Linked DNA regions of Homo sapiens: all the other regions are linked to region 1. Evidence: promoter capture Hi-C in 16 types of primary human blood cells and fetal thymus (Javierre and others, 2016). All regions are on one chromosome and are shown on one strand. Each heading gives the region's core, a stretch centred on a gene start or on the middle of the fragment in contact. The rest is flanking DNA. Distances are from core to core; before and after follow the strand shown.

The links. Contacts are between HindIII fragments. The CHiCAGO score rates a contact against its expected background, and 5 or more counts as called.
Region 2: a fragment that was not itself captured here is called in contact with the fragment with the promoter of ERVW-1 in region 1 in 3 of 17 cell types (M2 macrophages, erythroblasts and M1 macrophages); the score reaches 5.8 in M2 macrophages.
Region 3: a fragment that was not itself captured here is called in contact with the fragment with the promoter of ERVW-1 in region 1 in 1 of 17 cell types (erythroblasts); the score reaches 5.5 in erythroblasts.
Region 4: a contact is called between a fragment that was not itself captured here and the fragment with the promoter of ERVW-1 in region 1, in 2 of 17 cell types (M2 macrophages and erythroblasts). The highest score is 6.3, in M2 macrophages.

What each region holds. Positions count from the first base shown.
Region 1 is chr7:92,475,763-92,482,846 of GRCh38, reverse strand. It overlaps ERVW-1 (endogenous retrovirus group W member 1, envelope), which reads left to right and starts at 4,901. Exons shown (of 2, transcript NM_001130925.2): 1 at 4,901-5,465. It also overlaps a transcript of GATAD1 not described here. RefSeq lists enhancers at 4,588-4,619, 4,217-4,647, 4,537-4,681, 4,659-5,578, 5,716-6,217 and 1 more, cis regulatory regions at 4,217-4,525, 4,526-4,587 and promoters at 4,612-4,972, 4,679-5,011. The HindIII fragment of the contact is 16,290 bases long and covers 1-7,084 here.
Region 2 is chr7:92,189,340-92,196,501 of GRCh38, reverse strand. No RefSeq gene overlaps it. Among named protein-coding and RNA genes, the nearest start is that of MIR1285-1, 11 kb to the left of the region's middle. The HindIII fragment of the contact is 2,647 bases long and covers 255-2,901 here.
Region 3 is chr7:92,151,086-92,157,897 of GRCh38, reverse strand. The region is part of intron 3 of LRRD1 (leucine rich repeats and death domain containing 1); the gene reads left to right. All of the region lies in intron 1 of CYP51A1-AS1 (CYP51A1 antisense RNA 1), which reads right to left. Among named protein-coding and RNA genes, the nearest start is that of CYP51A1-AS1, 20 kb to the right of the region's middle. The HindIII fragment of the contact is 8,053 bases long and covers 1-5,461 here.
Region 4 is chr7:92,123,852-92,130,268 of GRCh38, reverse strand. It overlaps CYP51A1 (cytochrome P450 family 51 subfamily A member 1), which reads left to right. Exons shown (of 10, transcript NM_000786.4): 3 at 1,213-1,389; 4 at 2,638-2,764; 5 at 3,842-4,016; 6 at 6,416-6,417. Among named protein-coding and RNA genes, the nearest start is that of CYP51A1, 7.4 kb to the left of the region's middle. The HindIII fragment of the contact is 5,351 bases long and covers 573-5,923 here.

The sequences.
Region 1 (7,084 bases), core at 3,652-6,151:
AAAACTCCCCCACTCTGGTGCCAACTTGGACAACATTCTTTTATGCACTCTTTTTCAGTTATCCTCACCTGCCCAGTTCCCTTATTAGGCCGAGACATTTTAACCAAATTATCTGCTTCCCCGACTATTCCTGGGCTACAGCCACATCTCCTTGCCGCCCTTCTTCCCAACCCAAAGCCTCCTTCATATCTTCCTCTCATATCCCCCCACCTTAACCCACAAGTATGGGACACCTCTACTCCCTCCCTGGCAACCGATCACACGCCCATTACTATCCCATTAAAACCTAATCACCCTTACCCTGCTCAATGCCAGTATCCCATACCACAACAGGCTTTAAAGGGATTGAAGCCTGTTATCACTTGCCTGCTACAGCACGGGCTTCTAAAACCTATAAACTCTCCATACAATTCCCCCATTTTACCTGTCTAAAAACCAGATAAGTCTTACAGGTTAGTTCAGAATCTGCACCTTATCAACCAAATTGTTTTGCCTATCCACCCTGTAGCACCCAACTCGTACACTCTTTTGTCCTCAATGCCTTCCCCCACAACTCACTATTCCGTTCTTGATCTTAAAGATGCTTTTTTCACTATTCCCCTGCACCCCTCATCCCAGCCTCTCTTTGCTTTTACCTGGACTGACCCTGACACCCATCAGTCCCAGCAGCTTACCTGGGCTGTACTGCCGCAAGGCTTCAGGGACAGCCCTCATTACTTCAGCCAAGCTCTTTCTCATGATTTACTTTCTTTCCACCTCTCTGCTTCTCACCTTATTCAATATATTGATGACCTTCTACTTTGTAGCCCCTCCTTTAAATCTTCTCAACAAGACACCCTCCTGCTCCTTCAACATTTGTTCTCCAAAGGATATCGGGTATCCCCCTCCAAAGCTCAAATTTCTTCTCCATCTGTTACATACCTCGGCATAATTCTTCATGAAAACACATGTGCTCTCCCTGCCAATTGCGTCTCCAACTGATCTCTCAAATCCCAACCTCTTCTACAAAACAACAACTCCTTTCCCTCCTAGGCATGGTTGGATACTTTTGCCTTTGGATACCTGGTTTTGCCATCCTAACAAAATCATTATATAAACTCACAAAAGGAAACCTAGCTGACCCCATAGATTCTAAATCCTTTCCCCACTCCTCTTTCCATTCCTTGAAGACAGCTTTAGAGACTGCTCCCACACTAGCTCTCCCTGTCTCATCCCAACCCTTTTCATTACACACAGCCGAAGTGCAGGGCTGTGCAGTCGGAATTCTTACACAAGGACCGGGACCATGCCCTGTAGCCTTTTTGTCCAAACAACTTGACCTTACTGTTTTAGGCTCGCCATCATGTCTCCATGCGGTAGCTTCCGCTGCCCTAATACTTTTAGAGGCCCTCAAAATCACAAACTATGCTCAACTCACTCTCTACAGCTCTCACAACTTCCAAAATCTATTTTCTTTCTCACACCTGACGCATATACTTTCTGCTCCCCGGCTCCTTCAGCTGTATTCACTCTTTGTTGAGTCTCCCACAATTACCATTCTTCCTGGCCCAGACTTCAATCTGGCCTCCCACATTATTCTGGATACCACACCTGACCCTGATGATTGTATGTCTCTGATCTACCTGACATTCACCCCATTTCCCCATATTTCCTTCTTTTCTGTTCCTCATGTTGATCACATTTGGTTTACTGACGGCAGTTCCACCAGGCCTGATCGCCACTCACCAGCAAAGGCAGGCTATGCTATAGAATCTTCCACATCCATCATTGAGGCTACTGCTCTGCCCCCCTCCACTACCTCTCAGCAAGCCGAACTGATTGCCTTAACTCGGGCCTTCACTCTTGCAAAGGGACTACACGTCAATATTTATACTGACTCTAAATATGCCTTCCATATCTTGCACCACCATGCTGTTATATGGGCTGAAAGAGGTTTCCTCACTACGCAAGGGTCCTCCATCATTAATGCCTCTTTAATAAAAACTCTTCTCAAGGCTGCTTTACTTCCAAAGGAAGCTGGAGTCACACACTGCAAGGGCCACCAAAAGGCGTCAGATCCCATTACTCTAGGAAATGCTTATGCTGATAAGGTAGCTAAAGAAGCACCTAGCGTTCCAACTTCTGTCCCTCATGGCCAGTTTTTCTCCTTCCCATCAGTCATTCCCACCTACTCCCCCATTGAAACTTCCGCCTATCAATCTCTTCTCACACAAGGCAAATGGTTCTTAGACCAAGGAAAATATCTCCTTCCAGCCTCACAGGCCCATTCTATTCTGTCATCATTTCATAACCTCTTCCATGTAGGTTACAAGCCACTAGTCCACCTCTTAGAACCTCTCATTTCCTTCCATCGTGGAAACATATCCTCAAGGAAATCACTTCTCAGTGTTCCATCTGCTATTCTACTACCCCTCAGGGATTGTTCAGGCCCCCTCCCCTCCCTACACATCAAGCTCGGGGATTTGCCCCTGCCCAGGACTGGCAAATTGACTTTACTCACATGCCCTGAGTCAGGAAACTAAAATACCTCTTGGTCTGGGTAGACACTGTCACTGGATGGGTAGAGGCCTTTCCCACAGGGTCTGAGAAGGCCACTGCAGTCATTTCTTCCCTTCTGTCAGACATAATTCCTTGGGTTGGCCTTCCCACCTCTATACAGTCCAATAACGGAGCAGCCTTTATTAGTCAAATCACCTGAGCAGTTTTTCAGGCTCTTGGTATTCAGTGGAACCTTCGTACCCCTTACTGTCCTCAATCTTCAGGAAAGGTAGAATGGACTAATGGTCTTTTAAAAACACACCCCACCAAACTCAGCCTCCAACTTAAAAAGGAGGATAGAGCCCAAAAACTCGCAACCAAGCTAGTAATTATGCTGAACCCCCTTGGGCACTCTCTAATTGGATGTCTTAGGTCCTCCCAAATCTTAGTCCTTTAATATCTGTTTTTCTCCTTCTCTTATTCGGACCTTGTGTCTTCCGTTTAGTTTTTCAATTCATACAAAACCGCATCCAGGCCATCACCAATCGTTCTATACAATAAATGCTCCTTCTAACAACCCCACAATATCGCCCCTTACCACAAAATCTTCCTTCAGCTTAATCTCTCCCACTCTAGGTTCCCATGCCGCCCATAATCCCTCTCGAAGCAGCCCTGAGAAACATAGCCCATTATCTCTCCATACCACCCCCAAAATTTTTGCTGCCCCAACACTTCAACACTATTTTACATTATTTTTCTTATTAATATAAGAAGACAGCAATGTCAGGCCTCTGAGCCCAAGCCATCATATCCCCTGTGACCTGCACATATACATCCAGATGGCCTGAAGTAACTGAAGAATCACAAAAGAAGTGAAAATGGCCTGTTCCTGCCTTAACCGATGACATTCCACCACTGTGATTTGTTCCTGCCCCACCTTAACTGAGCAATTAACCTTGGGAAATTCCTTCTCCTGGCTCAAAACCTCCCCCACTGAGCACCTTGTGACCCCTGCCCCTCCACTACCCACCCAAATCCTATAAAATGGCCCCACCCCATCTCCCTTAGCTGACTCCTTTTTTGGACTCAGCCCGCCTGCACCCAGGTGAAATAAACAGCCTTGTTGCTCACACAAAGCCTGTTTGGTGGACTCTCTTCACAGGGACGGGGGTGACAACAACACGGACACACATGGAGTGGTTTTAAGGAGCAGAGAGTTTAATACGCAAAAAAGAAGGAAGAGGCTCCCCTGTACAGACACAGAGGGAGGGGGCTCCAAGCCGAGAGAAGGAAACCCCATGTGCAGTGGAAAAGTGGTTGATTATACTGGGAGGCTGGAGGAGGCGGTGTCTGATTTGCACAGGGCCCAGGGGATTGGGTTGACCAGGTGTATCATTCATGTACCCCGCAAAAAACCTGGCCCTCCCACCTCAGCCCTTTAATATGCAAATGTGGGTTGCCATGATGTTCTGAAAACACATGAATTATCTGGAGGGGGCCATGACACTTGGTACATGTGCTGACAAGAAGAGGGTGGGAATCGCCATGGTGGCCATGTTGGGTGGACCTAGTTTTTAATAGCCTGCATTTGCATATCAAAGTTTGCTGGCCTGGCTCTTTAAGCTGTCTTTTCTGTTAGAAAAGGAATGGTTTGGAATGGGTGAGGGTTGCTTCTTATTACAAGAAAATTTCCAAAAACCTTTACTCTTTCTAGCTGCCAAAAAACTATTTCTTAATAACTTATGTATTACCATAATTAGGCAGCACCAAAGATCCCTGCAGGTCAGACCACTGCAATTAACATGCTGGCTTTACTGCTGATTATGGTAGCTGCATCCACCTAGCCTCTCATATTGCAACTGCCTGACCTCTGCCACCCCACGAGCCACTTATCCCCACTTATAATCAGCCCATTTCGATTGTAACATCTGCCACTTATTCCCGACGTTGTGGTATATCCTATAGATGAATTCATTCAACATCCATTCCAACACCACCTCTCTTGCCTTCCTATACTCTCTGGAGAGTGAATTACTGAGTCACATGATCTTCACTGCAGTCATTTGTGGCTATGTGACATAGTTCTGGACAGTGAACATAGACAGAAGTCCCTGGGGCGGGCTTCCTTTCTGGGATGAGGGCAAAACGCCTGGAGATACAGCAATTATCTTGCAACTGAGAGACAGGACTAGCTGGATTTCCTAGGCCGACTAAGAATCCCTAAGCCTAGCTGGGAAGGTGACCACGTCCACCTTTAAACACGGGGCTTGCAACTTAGCTCACACCTGACCAATCAGAGAGCTCACTAAAATGCTAATTAGGCAAAGACAGGAGGTAAAGAAATAGCCAATCATCTATTGCCTGAGAGCACAGCAGGAGGGACAACAATCGGGATATAAACCCAGGCATTCGAGCTGGCAACAGCAGCCCCCCTTTGGGTCCCTTCCCTTTGTATGGGAGCTGTTTTCATGCTATTTCACTCTATTAAATCTTGCAACTGCACTCTTCTGGTCCATGTTTCTTACGGCTCGAGCTGAGCTTTTGCTCACCGTCCACCACTGCTGTTTGCCACCACCGCAGACCTGCCGCTGACTCCCATCCCTCTGGATCCTGCAGGGTGTCCGCTGTGCTCCTGATCCAGCGAGGCGCCCATTGCCGCTCCCAATTGGGCTAAAGGCTTGCCATTGTTCCTGCACGGCTAAGTGCCTGGGTTTGTTCTAATTGAGCTGAACACTAGTCACTGGGTTCCATGGTTCTCTTCTGTGACCCACGGCTTCTAATAGAACTATAACACTTACCACATGGCCCAAGATTCCATTCCTTGGAATCCGTGAGGCCAAGAACTCCAGGTCAGAGAATACGAGGCTTGCCACCATCTTGGAAGCGGCCTGCTACCATCTTGGAAGTGGTTCACCACCATCTTGGGAGCTCTGTGAGCAAGGACCCCCCGGTAACATTTTGGCAACCACGAACGGACATCCAAAGTGGTGAGTAATATTGGACCACTTTCACTTGCTATTCTGTCCTATCCTTCCTTAGAATTGGAGGAAAATACCGGGCACTTGTCGGCCAGTTAAAAACGATTAGTGTGGCCACCGGACTTAAGACTCAGGTGTGAGGCTATCTGGGGAAGGGCTTTCTAACAACCCCCAACCCTTCTGGGTTGGGGACTTGGTTTGCCTCAAGCCAGCTTCCACTTTCAGTTTTCTTGGGGAAGCCGAGGGCCGACTAGAGGCAGAAAGCTGTCGTCCTGAACTCCCGGCAGTAGCCGGTTGAGATCATGGTGTAGCCAGAAGTCTCAACAGTCGCCCATGCATGCACCCCTATCTTTCCTTCTGACCCATACCTCCTGGGTCCCAACCACAACTTTCTTCAAAGTGTAGCCCCAAAATTCTCCTTACCTCTGAATATACTTCCTCTGATCCCTGCCTCCTAGGTACTATTGGTTCAGACTTCCATTTCCTCTAGCAAGTTGTATCTCCAAAGGGATCTAAGGAAGCTCTGCGCTGCGTCCTTAGGCACCTAGGCTATAACCCAGGGAGTCTTATCCCTGGTGTCCCTCCCAATTTAGGCATACAGCTCTTGACATGGGCAGTTATGTAGGACCCACTCCCCACCACCCTTGCCAGGGCCCCAAGTTTGTAAATGGCTGAGGGAAAAGAGAGACAGAGGAGAGAGAGAGAAATGGAGGAGAAAGAGAGAGAGACAGAGAGGAGAGAGAGACAGTGAGAGAGACAGAAGAGAGAGAGAGACAAAGAGGAGAGAGAGAGAGTCAAAGAGAGAAAGAAAGAGAAAGAAATAGTAAAAAACAGTGTGCCCTATTCCTTTAAAAGCCAGGGTAAATTTAAAACCTGTACTTGATAATTGAAGGTCTTCTCTGTGACCCTATAGCACTCCAATCCACTTTGTGGTCAGTGTAAATAAGAGCATAGGCCGAAAGCACTGAGGCCATTGACAACCCGTAGCTTCCCTATCAAAAATCCTTAACCCAGTAACCCGCAGATGGACCAAATGCATTCAGTCGGTAGCGCAACTGCTTTGCTAAAAGTAGAAAAGTAACTTTTAGAGGAAACCTCATTGTGAGCACACCTCACCTGTTCAGAATTATTCTAATAAAAAAAGCAAAAAGGTAGCTTACTAACTCAAAAATCTTAAAGTATGGGGCTATTCTGTTAGAAAAAGGTAATGTAACTCCAACCACTGATAATTCCCTTAACCCAGCAGATTTCCTAACGGGATTTAAATCTTAATTACCATACAAAGGTCCGACCAGACCTAGGCGGAACTCCCTTCAGGACAGGACGATAGATGGTTCCTCCCAGGTGATTGAGGAAAAAAACCACAATGGGTATTCAGTAATTGATACGGGGACTCTTGTGGAAGCAGAGTTAGAAAAATTGCCTAATAACTGGTCTCCTCAAACGTGTGAGCTGTTTGCACTCAGCCAAGCCTTAAAGTACTTACAGAATCAAAAGACTATCTCAATCCTGATTCAAAAGGTTAGCTACACCCTCTCTGTAATGCATTTGCATAAGAACTTGTTTATGGGAATGCATCTTGATGGGGCAGCTGGGTTGTTATAAAATAGGAACCCAGCCCAGCTCTA
Region 2 (7,162 bases), core at 329-2,828, 280 kb after region 1:
ATGCATGCAAGGATTAGATGATAGACCAGATAGGCTTGAATGCGTGTGAGAATAGATGGATAGAGACACAGAGAGAGATAGGATTGAGTGCATGCAAGAAAATATTTTCTCACCAAAAATCCATCTATGATGGTATGATTCTCATTTGATGTTTGTATTCATAAGCACGTCAGAAAACCTCTAGAATTATTTATGGTGTTTGGAGAGGGAGACATAGGCAGACTGTAAAGGCCCTAAAGCAGAAGCATCAAGCTTTTGGGGATCTTCGAGGCCAGAGTATTTAAGACAAAGAATATCTTTCAGACATCTTAGGGTGTAGATGAGAAAAACAGTTTCAATACATTGTGCTAATTTCTGTGATAAAAGGAAGTACCAGGTTGTTCAGGATTCATTGGAAGGGCACCCACATGGGTGGGAAATTAGGAACTTATGTCCCCATTATTTAAATTATAATAATAGCTACTACTTTAAGTGACACTTACTACACTATTGGCATTATTTGAAGCACTTTTGGGATATTAATTCATTTATTCCTGACAACAATCACTATGAGGCAGATACTATTATTCCCATTTTACAGATAAGAAAATTGAAGTTGGTTTAAATTACTTTCCAAACCAATGAGTGGTGGAGCTCAGATTCATACCTCGGCAGCCAAACTCCAGAGTATAAGTCAGTCAGATACATCATGTATGGTTATAATAAAAACATAAAATAATACTTGTTTTCTATCTTTAAAATCTTAGGAGCCATAGTTTCTAACAGAGTGATGTAAATGTTTTCATTTTTGTATATTGTATAACTTTGAACACAGTTGTATACAGAGAGGCTATGTTATTTGTGTAAGGTCAAAAACTAGTAAGTTGGGGTGTCAGAATTCAACATCTGGCAGTCTGGCTTCTGAATTCAGACATTTGTCAGGTAAAGGAGATATAGGTGGAGTGGTTAAACAAAAATGATCAAGTTTTGAAGGGTGTTGTGTTTCCTGTTTATGAGGAGCCATTGGAGCCCTTAGGACTTGATTAGCTCAGATGTGTGTGTTGAAAGATCACCCTGGGTCAATGTACAGAAGGGCTTAAAGAGGTGGTTCTGAGCAAGAAGGTATAATGCAATCTGGACTTAAGCTAAGATAATGGCAATGGGAGAAAATATTTTGACAAAACCCAGTGACCTTTTAGATATGGGAAATAAGGAAGAGGTAGGAGTAATGAGTAATTATCCTCTTTCTGTCCTGGACATATGGGAAAATGGTACCATATACTGCCTAAAATAGGGAATAGGGGAGGAAGTTTTGAAGAAATGTTTTGAGTTCCTGGCTCCCAAGGGACACATAGATGGAGATGGTCAATAGACAATAGGGTTCCCAGGCCTGAAGTTCAAAAGGCTCTCAGGAGATGACAATTGAAACTCCACGAATAGATTTGAAGCCACCCAGGAAGAGAGCACAGTGAGAAGCAAGCAAAAGAATGACAACACTTGAGAAATGGGCAAACTTAGGACAATCCACAAAGCATCCTGTTAAGTGAATATCAGTATAGAAAAGAAATAGCTTGGCACTATTCTCCATATGTGTATCCAATAGATTTTATATGGGCAAAATTTAAATATTAAAATAACATTTAATATTGCTAGGGAAAAGCAGACCAGCATATTTTAGTGTCAGAGCACATTCGCTTATGGATGTTTCTTAAATGCGTATGAGGGATAGGTGAATAAAATGCTTTTTAAATGTACATGAACAAACATCAAAAGCAAAGCAAAAGAATGAGGACCTGGAGCTCATACATGGCTAGTAGGAATGCAAAATGGAACAACCATTTTGGAAAACAGTTTCGTTTCTTGTAAGTTAAATATACTATAGGACCCGGCATTCCACTCCCAATTATTTATCTAAGCAGCTAAAACTTATATTCACACAATTCATATGCAAATGTTTGTAGAATACATCTTTAATTTTTTCATAATTAAACTGGGAGCAACCCAAATATCCTTCACTGAGTGAATGAATAAACTCAGGTACATCCATATAATGGCATACCACTCAACAATGAAAAGAAACTATTGATGAACAACATGGATAAAGCTCAAATGCATTATGCTAACTGAAAGAAGCCAGACTCAAAAGGTTATACTGTATACCGTAACATTCCATTTGGATAACATTCTGGAAAAGGCAAAACTGTAGGACCAGAAAGCAGATAGTGGTTACCAAAGGTTAAGGATAGGTGTGGGGGGAATATGGGAATATAAAGGGGCAGCATGGAGAAATTTGGTGGTAGGGGAGAGGATGTTCTGATTATGATTGACATAGTATATTTGTCAAAATTCACAGAACTGATTATCAAAGGAAATTTTACTGGACAAATTTCAAAATACACTTAAAGAATCAGCACTTGCTAACCAAGTTCTGAAAATTCAAAACTATATTAAGTTTTTTTTGTTTTGTTTTGTTTTGTTTTTTTGAGACAGAGTTTCACTCTTGTTGCCCAGGCTGGAGTGCAATGGCACGATCTCGGCTCACTGCAACCTCTGCTTCCCGGGTTTAAGTGATTCCCCTGCCTCAGCCTCCAAAGTAGCTGGGATTACAGGCATGGGCCACCATGCCCAGCTACTTTTTGTATTTTTAGGAGAGACAGGGTTTCACCATGTTGGTCAGCCTGGTCTCGAACTCCTGACCTCAGGTGATCCACCCACCTCGGCCTCCCAAAGTGCTGGAATTACAGGCATGAGCTACCTTGCCCAGCCAAAAATTAAGATTTAACTAGAAATATGTCTGTACCCAAAATCCATTTAGTGAGTGGTCAAAGAAGATTAACAGAGAAGTTGTATGCTTGGAAATGCAAATGAATTTTAGAAATGGGGAAATATAAATTTTCCTAACAAAAATGTAAAACAGAAGCTTATTAAATTAGTTAAAATTATATGGAATAATAAAAACTGATTATGTTAATAAAATTGAATGATAGCACAAGACTGAGACAACATATGGGAATATATTTTGGCCAGCCCTGGAAAGCAGTCTCAAAAATGTTTTTGTTTTTGAGAGAGTCTCACTCCGTCACCCAGGCTGGAGTGCCGTGGCACTATCTCGGCTCACTGCAACTTTCACCTCCCGGATTCCAGTGATCCTCCCATCTCAGCCTCCCTAGTAGCTGGAATTACAACCGAGCACCACCACATCTGGCTAATTTTTGTATTTTTATTAGAGGCAGGGTTTCACAGTGTTGGCCAGGCTGGTCTCAAACTCCTTGCCTCAAGTGATCTGCCCACCTCAGCCTCCCAAAGTGCTGGGATTACAAGTGTGAACTGCTGCGCCCAGCCTCAAAAATGTTTACTCCCATTCTTTTGATGATCCCACATTGAGGACCACCTGAGAATGAGCTTGCTGCCCCCACTTTCTCATTTGCTGTGCTTTACTGATATTTTTCCCTACTTGCCTAGGGAGTAAATTGTATGCATTACAATTCAGCAAGGAAAAAATGACAGTTTTCTAACAGCGCCCTAAAAAATGGAACAAAATTGTGTAGTTTAAAATAATATAGCTGGATGCAGTGGCTCATGCCCATTATACCAGCACTTTGGGAGGCTGAGGCTGGCAGATCACATGAGACCAGGAGTTTGAGACCATCCTGGCTAACATGGTGAAACCCCTTTTCTATTAAAAATACACAAATTAGCTGGGCATAGTGGTGCACATCTGTAATCCCAACTACTCATGAGGCTGAGGCATAAGAATCACATGAACCTGGGAGGCAGAGGTTGCAGTGAGCCAAGATCATGCCACTGCACTCCAGCCTGGGTGACAGAATGAGACTCTGTTTCAATAATAGTAATAATATATCCTGCCAAACTAAGCTTCATAAGCGAAGGAGAAATAAAATCTTTTCCAGACAAGCAAGCACAAAGGGCATTCTTTACCACTATACCAGCCTTACCAGAGATCCTCAAGGGAGTTCTAAACATGGAAGTGAAAGAACAATGCATGCTACCGAAAAACACATTTAAGTACATAGCCCATAGACCTATTAAGCAACTACACAATAGAAACTACAGAGCAACCTGCTAACAGCTTTGCAATAGGATCAAAACCACATGTAACAATATTAACCTGGAATGCAAATGGTCTAAACACCCCCACTTAAAAGTCCGCAGAATGAGGCTGGGCACAGTGGCTCATGCCTTGTAATCCCAGCACTTTGGGAGGTGGGTGGATCACCTGAGGTCAGGAGTTTGAGACCAGCCTGGCCAACATGGTGAACCCCATCTCTACTAAAAATACAAAAATTACCTGGGTGTGGTGGCGTGCACCTGTTATCTCAGCTGCTTGGGAGGCTGAGGCAGGAGAATCTCTTGAACCTGGGAGGCAGAGGTTGTGGTGAGCCAAGATCACGCTACTGCACTCCAGCCTGAGCGACAGAGCAAAACTCTGTCTCAAAAAAAAAAAAAAAAAAAAAGTTATCGACTGGCAAGTTGGATTAAAAAAACAAGACCCATCCATCTGCTGTCTTCAAGAGACCCATCTCAAACATGACGACACCCATAGGCTCAAAGTAAAAGGTTGGAGAAAGATCTGTCACACAAACAGAAAACAAAAAAGAACAGAGGTCACTATTTTTATATCAGATAAAAGACTAAACCAACTACAGTGAAAAAGGACGAAGAAGGGCACTACATAATGGCAAAGTGTTCAGTTCAACAACAAGACTGAACTATTGTAAATACATACACACCCAACATTTGAGCACCCAGGTTCATAAAACAAGTACTTCTAGACCTACAAAAAGACTTAGTCACACAATAATAGTGGGGGACTTCACCCCATTGAGAGTGCTGGACAGATCATCAAGGCAGAAAACAAAGAAATTCTGGACTTAAATTCAACACTTAGACCTACTAGATATCTACAGAGTAATTCACCCATCAACCACAGAATACATATTTTTCTCATGTGGACATGGAACATACTCCAGGGTCAACCAAATGCTCAACTGTAAAGCAAGTCTCAATAAATTCAAAAAAGTTAAAATTATACTAAACCATACTCTCAGATCACAGTGGAATAAAAATAGAAATCACTACCAAGAAGATCTCTCAATACCATATGACAACATGGAAATAAAACAACTTGCTCTTGAATGATTTTGGGTAAACGACAAATTTTTAAAATCTTTGAAATAAATGAAAACAAAGACACAACGTGCCAAAATCTCTGGGATGCAGCCAAAACAGTGTTAATAGGAAATTTTATAGCACAAAACACCTACCTCCAGAAGTTAGAAAGATCTCAAATTAACCATCTAACATTACAGATAGAGGAACAAGAAAAACAACAAATGAACCCCAAAGCTAGCAGAAGAGAAGAAATAACTAAAATCAGAGCCAAATGGAATGAAATTGAGACCCAAAAATCCATACAGAGAATCAATGAAAAACAAACAATTTTTTTATCTTTTCAAAAAAAATGTTTTTTGAAAGATGAAACAAGATTGGTAGACTGTTAGCTATATTAACAAAGAAAAAGAAGATCTAAATAAACGCAGTCAGAAATGACAAAGATGGCATTACAACCATTCCCACAGAAATACAAAAGGTCCTCAGGGACTATTATTAAATCTCTATGCACACAATTTAGGAAATCTAGAGGAAATGGCTAAGTTCCAGGAAACACAATTTCCTAAGATTGAATCAGGAAGAAATTGAAACCCTGAACACACCAGTATCGAGTTCCAAAATTGAATCAGTAATTTTTAAAAAATCTAAAAAAGCCCCAAACCAGATGGATTCGCAGCTGAATTCTACCAGACATAAACAAAGAAGAGCTAGTACCAATTCTACTGAAACTATTCTTTAAAAAAAATGAGGAAGAGAGATTCCTCCCTAACTCATTCTACAAAGCCAGCATTAGCTTGATATCAAAACCTGACAAAGACAATGAGAGAAACTACAGGCCAATATCCCTGATGAACATAGACACAAAAATCCTCAGCAAAAATAGCAAATCGAATCCAGCATCCCATTCAAAAATTAATTCACCATGATCACAGGCTTCATTCCTGGGATGCAAGGTTGGTTCAGCATACAGAAATCAGTAAATGGGATTCACCACATAAACATAACAAACAATTAAAAACCATACGATCATATCAACAGATGCAGAAAAAGCTTTTGATAAAATCCAACATCTTTTCATGATAACCCTCCAGAAACTAGGCTTCAAAGGAACATACCTCAAAATAAGAGCCATCTATGACAAACCCACAGCCAACATCATACTGAATGGGCAAAAACTGGAAGCATGCCCAGTGAGAACTGGAACAAAACTGATGCCCACTCTCACCACTCCTATTCAACACAGAACTAGAAGTCCTAGCCAGAGTAATCAGGCAAGAGAAAGAAAAAGCATCCAAATATAAAAAGAAGTCAAACTTTCTTTGCTGATGATATGATTCCATACCTAGAAAACGCTGAAAACTCCGCCAAAAGGCTTCTGGAACTGATAACTTCAATAATGTTTCAGGATACAAAAATCAATGTACAAAAATCAGTAGCATTTCTATACACCAAAAATGTTAAAGCTGAGAACCAAATCAAGAACATAATCTCGAGGATATGAGGGGGGTCCTGAGCCAAGATGGCCGAACAGGAACAGCTCCGGTCTACAGCTGCCAGCGTGAGCGATGCAGAAGACGGGTGATTTCTGCATTTCCATCTGAGGTACTGGGTTCATCTCACTAGGGAGTGCCAGACACTGGGCGCAGGACAGTGGGTGCAGCACACTGTGCGCGAGCCAAAGCAGGGCGAGGCATTGCCTCATTTGGGAAGTGCAAGGGGTCAGGGAGTTCCCTTTCCTAGTCAAAGAAAGGGGTGACAGACGGCACCTGGAAAATCGGGTCTCTCCCACCCTAATACTGCGCTTTTCCAACGGGCTTAAAAAAACGGTGCACCAGGAGATTATATCCCGCACATGGCTCAGAGGGTCCTTCACCCACAGAGTCTCGCTGATTGCTAGCACAGCAGTCTGAGATCAAACTGCAAGGCGGCAGCGAGGCTTGGGGAGGGGCGCCCGCCGTTGCCCAGGCTTGCTTAGGTAAACAAAGCAGCCGGGAAACTCGAACTGGGTGGAGCCCACCACAGCTCAAGGAGGCCTGCCTGCCTCTGTAGG
Region 3 (6,812 bases), core at 186-2,685, 320 kb after region 1:
AAAGAAGAAATCATTAAGTTAGGCCGGGCATGGTGGCTCATGCCTGTAATTCCAGCACTTTGGGAGGCCGAGGGGGGCGGATTGCTTGAGGTCAGGAGTTTGATGCCAGCCTGGCCAATATGGTGAAACCCCGGCTCTACTTAAAAAAAAAAAAATTAGTCAGGTGTGGTGGGGCACACCTGTAATCAAAATCAAAACTACTCAGGAGGCTGAGGCAGGAGAATCGCTTAGACCCAGGAGGCGGGGGTTGCAATGAGCTGAGATTGTGCCACTGCACTCCAGCCTGGGCGACAGAGTGAGACTCTGTCTGAAAGAATGAAGGAAAGAAAAGAAAGAAGAAAGGAAGGAAGGAAGGAAGGAGAAACAATGCCAATTTAAAAAATTCTGTCATAAAATTGAGGATACAACATGTCTCAGTTCATTCTGAGGCCAGCATTATCCTAATACCATAATAAGACAAAGACATTACTTGGAAACTTACAGAATAACATCCTGCTTGAACATCGATGCAAAATTCCTTAATGAATTAAAGCAAATTAAATCCATCAATATAAAAAATGATATCATATTGTGACCAAGTGGGATTTACCCTGGGAATGCAAGGTTGAGTCAATATTCAAAAACTAATCCATGTAATTCACCATCTGAACAGGCTTATGAAAAGCCATGTGAACTTCTCACTGTAAGTATAAAAAGCAAAGCAAGCAGATGTGGTGGTTTATGCTTGTAATCCCAGCTACTTGGGAGACATAGGCAGGAGGATTGCTTGAGCCCAGGAGTTTGAGGCTGCAGTAAGTTATGATTGTGCCACTGCATTCCAGCCTGGGCAACAAAACAAGACCTCATCTCAAAAAAAAAAAAAAAAAAAGCAAATATCATATGAAAAAATACAATTTCCATTCAAGATTTTCAAAAACAAACAACAACAAAAAAACTCTCAGCAAGCTAGAAATAGAAGAGAATTTCCTCAACTTGAAAAAATACATCTGCAAAACTCCTATAGCTAATATCACACTCCATGGTAAACGATTTATTTTCCACTATGATCAGGATTAAAGTAAAGTTCTCCTTTCTCACCACTTCTTTTTGACGTTATAACTGGAATCCCAACTAGCACAACAACACAAGAAAAAGAAATAAAAAGTAAATAGATTGTGAAGGAAGAAGAAAAAATTATTTCTGATAACAGAGACACGTTGTCTAGGTCAAAAATCCCAAAGGATCTACAGAACAAGTAAGTTTAGCAAGATTGCCGTATACAGAGTTAATATACAAAAATCAATCATATGTCTACAGACTAGCAAGAAATGATTGGAAATTGATTTCTTTAAAAGTACAATTTAAAATGGTACCAAAACCATAAATAAATCTAACAAATTACATATAAGATCTATATGCTGAAAACTGTAACATAGATAAAACTAAATAAACCTAAATAAGTAGAGAGATATATAGTGTTTATAAATTGGAAGACAATATTGTTAATATGTCAGTTTTCCCAAAACTTATCTTTAAATTCAACTCAATTCCAACAAAATCCTAGCAGAGTTTTTTGTTTCAGAAAACAATGAGGTAATTCTAAAATGTATATAAAAAGTCAAAGGAACTAGAATAGCTGAAACAATTTTGAAGAAGAAAAACAAAGTTGGATGATTCACACAACCTGATTTCAAGACTTATGCAAAACTATAGTCATGAAGACAGTGATAGTATTGGCAAAACAACAGACATAAGGATCAATGGGACAGAATAGAGAGTCTAGAAATAGATCCACAATTATGGTTAATATTGAGTGTCAACTTGATTGGATTGCAGGATGCAAAGTATTGTTCCTGCATGTGTCTGTGAGGGTGTTCCCAAAGGAGATTAACATCTGAGTCAGTGGACTGGGAGAGGCAGACCCACCCTCAATCTGGGTGGGCACAATCTAATCAGCTGCCACCTTGGCTAGAATAAAGCAGGCAGAAGTACGTGGAAGGACTAGACTGGCTGTGTCTTCTGGCCTCCATCTATCTCCCATGCTGGATGCTTCCTGCCCTCAAACACTGGACTCCAAGTTCTTCAGCTTTTGCACTCTTGGACTTACACCACTGGTTTGCCAGGGGCTCTAGGGCCTTTGGGCCTTTGGCCACAGACTGAAGGCTGCACTATTGGCTTCCCTACTTTTGAGGTTTCGGGACTTGGACTTGCTTCCTTGTGCCTCAGCTTGCAGATGGCCCATTGCAGGACTTCACCTTGTGGTTATGTGAGTCAATACTCCTTAATAAACTCCCTTTTATATATATATATCTATCCTATTAGTCCTGTCCCTCTGGAGAACCCTGACTAATACACCCACTATATGGTAGTCCTGTCCCTCTAGAGAACCCTGACTGACCACTATGTGGTCAACTGATTTTTGCCATGGTAGTTCCCCCTTATTCACAGTTTCACTTCCATGGTTTTACTCATGATCAACAGTGGTCTGAAAATATTAACTGGGAAATTCCAGAAATAAACAATTCATAAATTTAAAATTGTGCACTTTTCTGAGCAGTGTGATGAAATCTTGCACTGTCCTACCTGGGTTGTGAATCCATTCACTGCATGTGCTCCCTGCCTGTCAGTCACTTAGTAGCAGTCTCAGTTATCAGATCCACTGTCACAGTATCACAGTGCTTGTGTTCATGTAACCCTTATTTTACTTATTAATGGCCCTAAAGCACAAGAGTAGTGATGCTGGCAATTTGGATACACCATAGAGAAGCCTTAAAGTGCTTCCTTTAAGTGAAAAGGTGAGAGTTCTCAACTTGGAAAGAAAAGAATCATATGATGAGGTTGCTAAGATCTACGCTAAGGACGAATATTCTATCGATGAAATTGTGAAGACAGAAAAAGAAATTTGTGCTAATTTTGCTGTTGCACCTCAAACTACAAAATTACAGCCACAGTGCATGATAAGTGCTCAGTTAAGAAGGAAAAGGCATTAAATTTGTGGGTGAAAGACATGAACAGATGTGATCTGATTGACAGCAATCATGTTTGATACTGTATTTGGTTTGTAGGCATCAGCTGGGGGGTCTTGGAAGGTATCTCCCATGGATAAGGAGGAACTACTGTAATCCAACAGAGAAAGAACATTATTTTCAACAAATATTGCTGGATCAACTGGATGTCCAAAAGCCAAAACAAAACAAAATAAAACAAAAACAAATAAATAACCACAATATAATTTTGATCCTACACACTATATAAAAATATTACCTCAAAATGAATCACAGACCTAAATGTAAAAGCTAAAACTACAAAACTTCTAGATAAGAACATAGAAAAATATTGTTTTGCAAAAAAAAAAAAGTGAAAAAATATTAAAAGGCTGGGTGTCATGGCTCATGCCTGTAGTCCCAGAACTTTGGGAGGCTGAGATGTGAGGATTGCTTGAGACTCAGGAGTTTGGGACCAGCCTGGGCAACATGGGGAAACCCCATCTCTACAAACAAAATACAAAAAAATGAGCTGGGCATGGTGGTGCACTCCTGTAGTCCCAGCTGCTTGAGAGGCTGAGGTGGGAGGATCACTTGAACCCATGAGGCTGAGGCTGCAATGAGCCAAGATCGTGCCACTGCACTCCAGCCTGGGTGACAAAGCCAGACCCTGTCTCAAAAAAAAAGGTGAAAAAAATCAAAACTTTGGCAAGGATTTCTTATATACAACACTGAAATTACAATCCACAAATAAACATAATTGATAAATTGGTTTTCATCAAAATTGGAAACTTCTCTGCTGGGCGTGGTGGCTCATGCCTGTAATCCCAGCACCTTGGAAAACCGAGGCAGGTGGATCTCCTGAGGTCAGGAGTTCGAGACCAGCCTAGCCAACATGGTGAAACCCTGTCTCTACTAAAAATACAAAAAATTAGCCAGGCGTGGTGGCAGGCGCCTGTAATCCCAGCTACTTGGGAGGCTGAGGCAGGAGAATCGCTTGAACCCAGGAAGCGGAGGTTACAGTGAGCCAAGATGCTGCCACTGCACTCCAGCTTGGCTGACAAGAGCAAGACTAAAGGCTTTTTAAAATTTTTTTATTTTTATTTTTTTTTTACAGCAGAGTCTTGCTGTGTCATCCAGCCTGGAGTGCAGTGGCACGATCTAGGCTCACTGCAGCTTCTGCCTCTGGGGTTTCCTGCCTCAGCCTCCTGAGTAGCTGGGATTACAGGCGCCTGCCACCATGCCCAGCTAATTTTTGTATACTTTTAGTAGAGATGGGGTTTCACTATGTTGCCCAGGCTTCTCTCAAATTCCTGACCTCAAGTTATCCACCCGCCTTGGCCTCCCAAAGTGCTGAGATTATAGGCATGAGCCACTGTGCCCAGCCCAAAAGACATTTTTTAAAAGAATGAAAAGCAAAGCCATGGATTGGAAGAAAATATTTGCTTAATACTTAAAAAAAAAAAAACTAAAAACAAAATTAAGAAGTCAAACAACTTAATAAAAATTGGTATAAATTTTGAACAGATAATTTACTAAGAAGCTATATGAATGAAAAATAAGCATAAGAGGCCGGGCGTGGTGGCTCACGCCTATAATCCCAGCACTTTGAGAGGCTGAGGCAGGTGGATCGCTTGAGGTCAGTAGTTCAAGATCAGCCTAGCCAACATAGTGAAACCCCATCTCTACTAAAAATACAAAAATTAGCTGGGCATGGTGGCTTGTGCCTATGGTCCCAGCTACTCGGGAGGCTGAGGCACAAGAATTGCATGAACCCTGGAGGCAGAGGCTGAGGTGAGCTGAAATCACACCACTGCACTACAGCCTGGGTGACAGAGCTAGACTCTGTCTCAAAATAAAAAAGAAAGAAAGAAAGAAGCATATGAAAATATTATGCTTATTAGTCATATTAGAGAAATGCAAATTAACTATACAATGAAATATTGCTATTAGAATAGTTAAAATTAGGCTGGGCGCGGTGGCTCACGCCTGTAATCCCAGCACTTTGGGAGGCCCAGGCGGGCAGATCACGAGGTCAGGAGTTTGAGACCAGCCTGACCAATATGGTGAAACCTCGTCTCTACTAAAAATACAAAAATCAGCTGGTGTGGTGGCACGCACCTATAGTCCCAGCTACTCAGGAGAGTGAGGCAGAAGAATTGCTTGAACCCGGGAGGTGGAGGTTGCAGTGAGCTGAGGTGACGCCACTGCACTCCAGCGTGGGCAACAGAGCGAGACTCCATCCAAAAAAAAAAAAAAAGAATAGTTAAAATTAAAATCTGATAATACCAAAAGCTATCAAAATACAAGTAACTGAAACTCTGATACACTGATGAAAGAAATACAAAATGGTACAACCCTTTAGAAAAGTTTGGTAGTTTCTTATATAGTTGTACATACACTTAACCATACAAACCATCAATCTCACTTCAACTACTCTTTTACATGAAATGAAAACTTATTCAACAAAAAACTGAGTACAAATGTATAGAGAAGCTTCCTTTGTAATTGCCAAAACTGGAAGCTCTTCAAATGTCATTTATGTATTAAATGGATAAATTATTTACATCTATATAATGGAATACTTCTCATTATTAAAAAGAAAAAAACTATTGATACACACAACACTGATATTGTTGTAATGCTAAGTGAAAGAAGTCAGACCCTAAAGACTATGTGCTATGATTTATAACATATATGTTATACATGTATGTGTGTGTATATATACATATATAAAATTCTAGGTTTATAATAAATATATTTTACACACACACACACACACACACACACACACTCCCAGAAGCATCGTATCCAGATCTTGGTTTCTAAATATGATTATTCACTAAAAGGAACCAGTTTCCTTTAACTATATTTATAAATAATATAACTATAAAATATATAAATAATATAAAGGCAAATTTTAGGCCTCTCTAAATGACTACAAATTCATTTTTACCACAGTTTTACTTCTTTTTTTTTTTTTTTGAGATGGAGTTCCGCTCTTGTCTCCCAGGCTGGAGTGCAATGGCATTATCTCGGCTCCCTGCAACCTCTGCCTCCCGGGTTCATGCAATTCTCCTGTCTCAGCCTCCTGAGTAGCTGGGATTACAGGTGCCCACCACCATGCCCAGCTAATTTTTGTATCTTTAGTAGAGATGGGGTTTTGCCATGTTGGCCAGGCTGGTCTTGAACCCCTGACCTCAGGTGATCCACCCACCTCGGCCTCCCAAAGTGCTGGGATTACAGGCGTGAACCACTGGTTTTACTTTTTATCTTAGGTTTACATTGGATTAGGATGGTATTGAAAAAATTACATTTAGGAAGGTAGAGTTTAATTCCCACTCCCCCTTGAGGGTAGCCTAGATTTAGTGACTTACTTCCAAAGAATAGAGTATGGAAAGGAAAAAAATTATAACATTATCTTGGAGAATGCTAGCAGAGACTGTGTTATCCAAGCGATAAAATTTAACATCATTAGTGATGTCATGCGGATATGAGGTATCTCTGATATAATGTGATAAGTGCACTTCACCTCTGTGGTATTCTTTCCAAAAACCCATAACCCCAGTCTAATAATGAGAACATATCAGACAAATTCAAGTTATGGTACATTCTACAAAATTCATAACCAGTACTTCTTAAAACTGTCAAGGTCATGAAAAACAAGGAAAGACTGAGAAACTATCACAAACCAGAGGCGACTAATGAGACATAAAAGTATGCAATGAGATTTCCTGAAACAGAAAAAGGACACTGATGGAAAAACTAATGAATCCAAAAAAATCTGAAGTGTATTTAGTAGTAACATACCAATACTGGTTTCTTAGATTAAACAAATGTAATATGATA
Region 4 (6,417 bases), core at 1,999-4,498, 350 kb after region 1:
AAACACAGAGAGACTAAGTTCTCTGACTATAGGACCAAAGTCATACAGCAAGTAGGTGGAGGAGCTGGGATTTGAACACGGACAGTCTGGCTCACTGCGTTCTACCACTTTGATTTTATTACAACTATATTTTGCCTCTTATCGGAGGCTGAACTCTCCATCCCTCTTTTGTCTCAGGAACTTTTTACTTTTATTTGTTTTCTCAGTGTATTGTTGACTTCTTTTTCAATGGCATCTTTCCTTTTTCTCTGAAAAATTCTTGTCACCCGTTTAAAAACTTCCTCAAAATGGCTTATGAGGCTCTGTATGGTCTAGCACTGCCTAATGCTCAACTCTCATCTCCTCCTTTCTCTTTCTCTTACTTTTAGGGCCTTTGTGTATGTTTAGCTACCAAACCAGCTCCTCATTCTTCTGGTCTCAACCTAGTTGTCTTTTCCTCTATTAGGTCTCCCTTTTTTAGATTCTCTCATCACAGAGTTGCTTTCCTTTCTGTAATACTTGTCACATTTGCAGTTTTATGTTTGTTAATGTGATTATTTGATTAATTTGTATTTTTTCCAATAGACTAAGCTTGGTGAGTTGGGACAGTATTTTTTTTCATGATTATACCCCCAGAGTCTAGTCTTCAATCATAACCAGAAAACTGCAAGGGAAAGTATTTAACATCTAACCAAATTAATATAAAATAAAAAATGAAGTCATTTAGTGTAGGTGAGATAGTGCTAAAATAGATAAATAAACTTGTAGTGTCTTCACATAGCAGGTACTATAGAAAAGGTCAAATTCTTTGGCTAGTCTTGTAAAATTTGTTTTTAACCAAAGGGGGAAGAAGTCTATATTTTCAGAGGTGTTCATCACAGAATTAGCTGTAATAACTAAAGAAAACCCTGACATATCACCCATATGTCCAATAATGAAAGAGTAGTCAGTAAATTAACATTGTGATGTTTATATAGACAATAGAAAACATTGTCAATATAAACTGAAAAAAGCATAATAAACAGTTATATTTATACTACATTTGCAACTAAATGAACATAATTATAAATTTGGACAAAGGAAGGAGGAGTATGGCAAGATGAAAAGAATTGCTTTAAGGTTTATATATGTTTTTATTTTTTTAATAATGCATTATTTTGTGATTTTAAAAAGTTACTGTCGTAGTGTTGCATATTTTTTGTAACATCACTATATGTACTTTTCTCTTTTTAGTATGGACCTGTATTTAGTTTTACCATGGTAGGCAAGACATTTACTTACCTTCTGGGGAGTGATGCTGCTGCACTGCTTTTTAATAGTAAAAATGAAGACCTGAATGCAGAAGATGTCTACAGTCGCCTGACAACACCTGTGTTTGGGAAGGGAGTTGCATACGATGTGCCTAATCCAGTAGGTGACACTGTTACCATAAATAAAGACAAATCTATACCTCAGTAGTTATAGCTAATAGTGAGACATTATACATTTAAAATGTAGAAACAGCCAGGCATGGTGGCTCATTCCTGTAATCCCAGCACTTTGGGAGGCCAAGGTGGGTGGATCACTCAAAGTCAGGAGTTCAAGACCAGCCTGGCCAACATGGTGAAACCCTGTCTCTACTAAAAATACAAAAATTAGCTGGGTGGGGCTGGTGGTGCACACCTGTAAATTCCAGCTACTTGGGAGGCTGAGGCATGAGAATCGCTTGAACCCAGGAGGCGGAGGTTGCAGTGAGCCGAGATCACAACACTGCACTTTAGCCTTGGCAACAGAGTGAGACCCTGTCTCAAAAACAGAAACAAAAAACCAAACACACACACACACACGCACGCGCACACACACACACACACACACACACACAGAAACCAACCAAACAAAAATGTAATAAAATGTAGAACCAGTTTATTCCTTGGTTCAAAAGTCTGAAGAATCATGAGAAGAAAGGCCATGGATAACTGATAAGTAATGGGTATTTAGTTTTATATTTGCTGTCATGGCTAAACAATATTAAAGGGCTTCCTGTACAAATAATGGAATCAATGATAACTTAGCATACTGGGATTTAATTTGAAAGGGTTATTAGACAATGCTGTTACTTCATCAAAAGGACTTCCTGCCTACCCATTCCTGCCTGAAATTCTAACATAAGCGCTGTTTAGAGATTGCTGACTTCAGAAGTCCTCTTTTAATGCAACAACTTCACGTGTGGGGTACATCTATGTGTATGTTTTACCCTCAAAAGCCAAATACGAAATTGTTTTAAGTTGATATAGAACACAAATCAGACAATTGGCCCCAATGCTTGGTATGGGCTCTGGCTGTGAATGTAACACACATTAGCCAGTACCCTAGTATAGCAGTTAAGAGTTAACATTAAATCTTGTTTCTAGTGATGGGGAATGAGGGAATGAATGCCTCTCCTTAAGGCCAAAAAACAGGGCCCTGGAAAATCCCTCTGTTCAGATATATATATTCATTTAGACTCTATTCATTTAGAGTCAGATAGATCTATTCATTTAGACTCTTAAAATGTAAATGCCCAAAGGGTTAAAACCATTACTTGTGTTAGTGTTACATAATTATAATAACCTAAATGGATTTTATGATAAAACAAAAATGTGTTTTAATGCCGTATCCCCGTTTTGAATTTTTTTGAAGGTTTTCTTGGAGCAGAAGAAAATGTTAAAAAGTGGCCTTAACATAGCCCACTTTAAACAGCATGTTTCTATAATTGAAAAAGAAACAAAGGAATACTTTGAGAGTTGGGGAGAAAGTGGAGAAAAAAGTAAGCAAAATGTTTTATGTTTGTCCTAACATTTCTACTTCTCTGTGAATAGAAAAGTAGAGTATATATGTGTGTAGTATATAAAAAACAAATTACAGTGTATGTAAAACTACCTTAGATTTATGGGAGGGTTATGTAATGATTACCATGAAGTTGTAACTGAGAATCCAGTTTTTATACTGGGCTGCAAGTTAAGTATTGCCTTCAGAAGCAATTGCTGTGCCCATAGTAGGAAGCAACATCTGCCCACAGGGCAGCAGGACCCAGGGCAGCAGGTCACTATATTCTGGGTCTGGCCTTTGGCCTCTGTAAGAGTTCCAGAATCTTTGTTTTTGGTATACTTAAGTTGATATTGATATATTTTCTAACCATACAAGAAACTGATGTATAAATTAGAATGCCAATGTAATAATGCATGTGAGACATATAATTACAGCACCAAGAAATCCAGAATATTTACTGATATTCTTTTTATTGACAAATATAATTGGAAAGCCAGATGATCATTGGAAGTTCATTTAGTGAATGTGGAATTAACAGGAAATTAATTGGATAATTTTTATTAGTTGTCATCAAATTATGCTTGCCTGGTGCATTTGTCTCCAGTGTTGGGATATACTAATTGGTGATTATAGTTTTCTTTTACATATCGCCAGTAATTCCATTTTGGCCCTGATCTTCCTACTTTTAACCTGGGAAATAATCTGATCTTTGGCTACTATTCCTTGGGAAGTACCTTATTATTGTCATATGCACTATAAATAACCTTTTTTCTGCTTTTGTTATTGTGACCTGGAAATCAAATAACCACATTTATTCTTTTCATGATGAAGTGCTCATGAGTGGGGTTTTGAGATGTGTTTCTGGGATCTGTTTTGGCTGTTTAGAGGGACAGGGTGCTTCACATTGTTTGGTTTATTGCCCCTCTTTGTTGTTGTACATAGTCACATGTCTGTCTACAGACTTTTTTTGATGATATGAATAGGATCTTGTTTCTTCTTGAGTTCTGTTTTTAATTCTCAATTTTCTTTCACTTTTTGGAAATAGTAATGAGAATAATCTTTTTTTTCTCCCTAGATGTGTTTGAAGCTCTTTCTGAGCTCATAATTTTAACAGCTAGCCATTGTTTGCATGGAAAGGAAATCAGAAGTCAACTCAATGAAAAGGTAGCACAGCTGTATGCAGATTTGGATGGAGGTTTCAGCCATGCAGCCTGGCTCTTACCAGGTTGGCTGCCTTTGCCTAGTTTCAGGTATGGATAAAGAATATATTACACTAGGTTATTTAACTTTGTATAATTATTGTAGTGTTGGTATGCTTTGCCTTAACAAAGATAAAAATTAAACAAGTAAAACATACAAAATGGGTAAGATTATGAATCCCCTTTCTTCTATAAGAATTCAAGACAAATTTTCTTTATATAATGAGCTCATTTAAAGTAAGTTTCAGTTTATTAAAAAGGTGATTTGTTGTCTGTCTAGTCTAATATTTTATTTATGTTTTTGTTTTTGAGATGGAGTCTTGCTCTGTTGCCCCAGCTGTAGTGCAGTGGTGTGATCTCGGCTCACTGCAGTCTCTGCCTCCTGTGTTCAAGCAATTCTCCTGCCTCATCCTCCTGAGAGCTGGGACTACAGGCACGTGCCACCATGCCCAACTAATTTTTCTATTTTTAGTAGAGACAGGGTTTCATCATGTTGGCCAGGCTGGTTTCAAACTCCTGACCTCAGGTGATCCACCTGCCTCAGCCTCCCAAAGTGTTAGGATTACAGGCGTGAGCCACTGAGCCCAGCCTAGTTTAAAAGCCTGCTTACCTCACGTATTCCTTATCCTCAGGAAAGTCTCTGAACTATACCTAAAAGTGATACAGCTCTTCTCTAGCACTTGTTTGAAATCTTTGGTGGCTTTTTATTGTATTGTGAAGTTTCTTTGTTTTAAATATTTGTGCCTTTATTTAATTTTCTGTTTCTTAAGGACAGGGACTGCCTCTGATATAAAGAAATATTGCTCTTAGGACTTGATCTATAGCTTAGTGCTTAGTGTTTTGCATATTAGTAGGCTTTCTGTACTTTTGTTGATTTATTGGTGTTTAGGTGACAGATGGGGAGGAGATAGATTGCTAGTCCCTTTTCTTCTATTTCTGCCCCCTCTATCTAGTTACAGATTGGAAGAGGGGTGGGAGTAAAAGGAAGAGCCAGGAGAGATTCCCTAAAGTTCTCTGGAACTCATCATACCTTATATTTGCAAGGAGCTTTGCAGTTTCAAAATGTTTTCATATATCTTATATTAGAACACCCAGCACAGCCCTGGACTCATAGTGGGTTCTCCATAAATGTGCATTTCTTTTTTTTTTTTTTTTTTTTGGTGATGGAGTCTTGCTCTCTCGCCCAGGCTGGAGTGCAGTGGCATGAGCTCGGCTCACTGCAAGCTCTGCTTCCCAGGTTCACGCCATTCTCCTGCCTCAGCCTCCCGAGTAGCTGGGACTACAGGCACCCGCCACCAAGCCTGGCTAATTGTTTTGTACTTTTAGTAGAGATGGGGTTTCACCGTGTTAGCCAGGATGGTCTTGATCTCCCGACCTTGTGATCCGCCCGCCTCGGCCTCCCATAGTGCTGGGATTACAGGCGTGAGCCACTGCACCTGGCCCATAAATGTACATTTCTACCTGCCTGTTTCTACCTGCTCTGTCTCTTGGATGAAGTCAGAGCTTGCTATGTTAGGCCCTTCACATTCTGGCCCAGTCTTTCTTTCTTCTACTCATACCAACTAATTTAACCAGATTATTCAATTCACTTTCTTAAACAGGCCTATGTTTTCCTGGTTCGACTGTATTCATACAGTTAAGCCCCAACATCTTCTCTTCTGTACACATGGTTTCAGTTGATCCTCAATAACAGATTAACAGTCTTGTAAATGAAACAGAGTAGGAGTTTTTTTTAGAAGGCTTGATTTAAGAGGGGGCTTGGGAGTCAGACTGCCTAGTTTTAAATTCCAGCTCCAATGTTTGCTTTCTGTGTGATCTTATGCAGCTAGCTATAACTTGAGGTTAATAGTATGTACCTCACAGGAAGATAAAAGTGAGTAATTCATGTAAAACACTTAACATGGTACCTGCTACATAGTGAACATACTATTTAAAGGTAAAGTTTAGGAGTTGAAGCTTGTTTTCTGAATCTGCTAGTATTTTCACCCCCTACAAAAAACTATTGTATTAGAAAGTGAAAAGTAGAACCAGATTCCATGGAAGAACCAGAGTGACTCTTCTGCTTTAAGACTTGATTTGGTATTAAAATTGGAATTTTATGTTAATTTAAAAGAGTATCCTACTTTCTGTTGAACTGGAAAATACTTCTAAAGGAATTTCTTGCTTGTTTTAGGCCTTTAGTTTGAACACAGGCAATGTGTTAAGAATCTGGGATATATATGTTAAATAAAGCACAGTTCTTGCCCTTAGGGACTATGGACATTTTTAACAATGTAAGATTTTCATGACTTCCAGTATGTTCCTGGTTCTGATTTTTTTGTCAATTATTTTAGAGTCATTAAAGTTGGTTAAATAAGATGCTTTATGCTCGGTCCTGGTTCTCAAAATGAATTTGATCCTAGAAGGTTATTTCTTTATTTAAGAAAATCATCTTTATCTTTTAATTACAGAC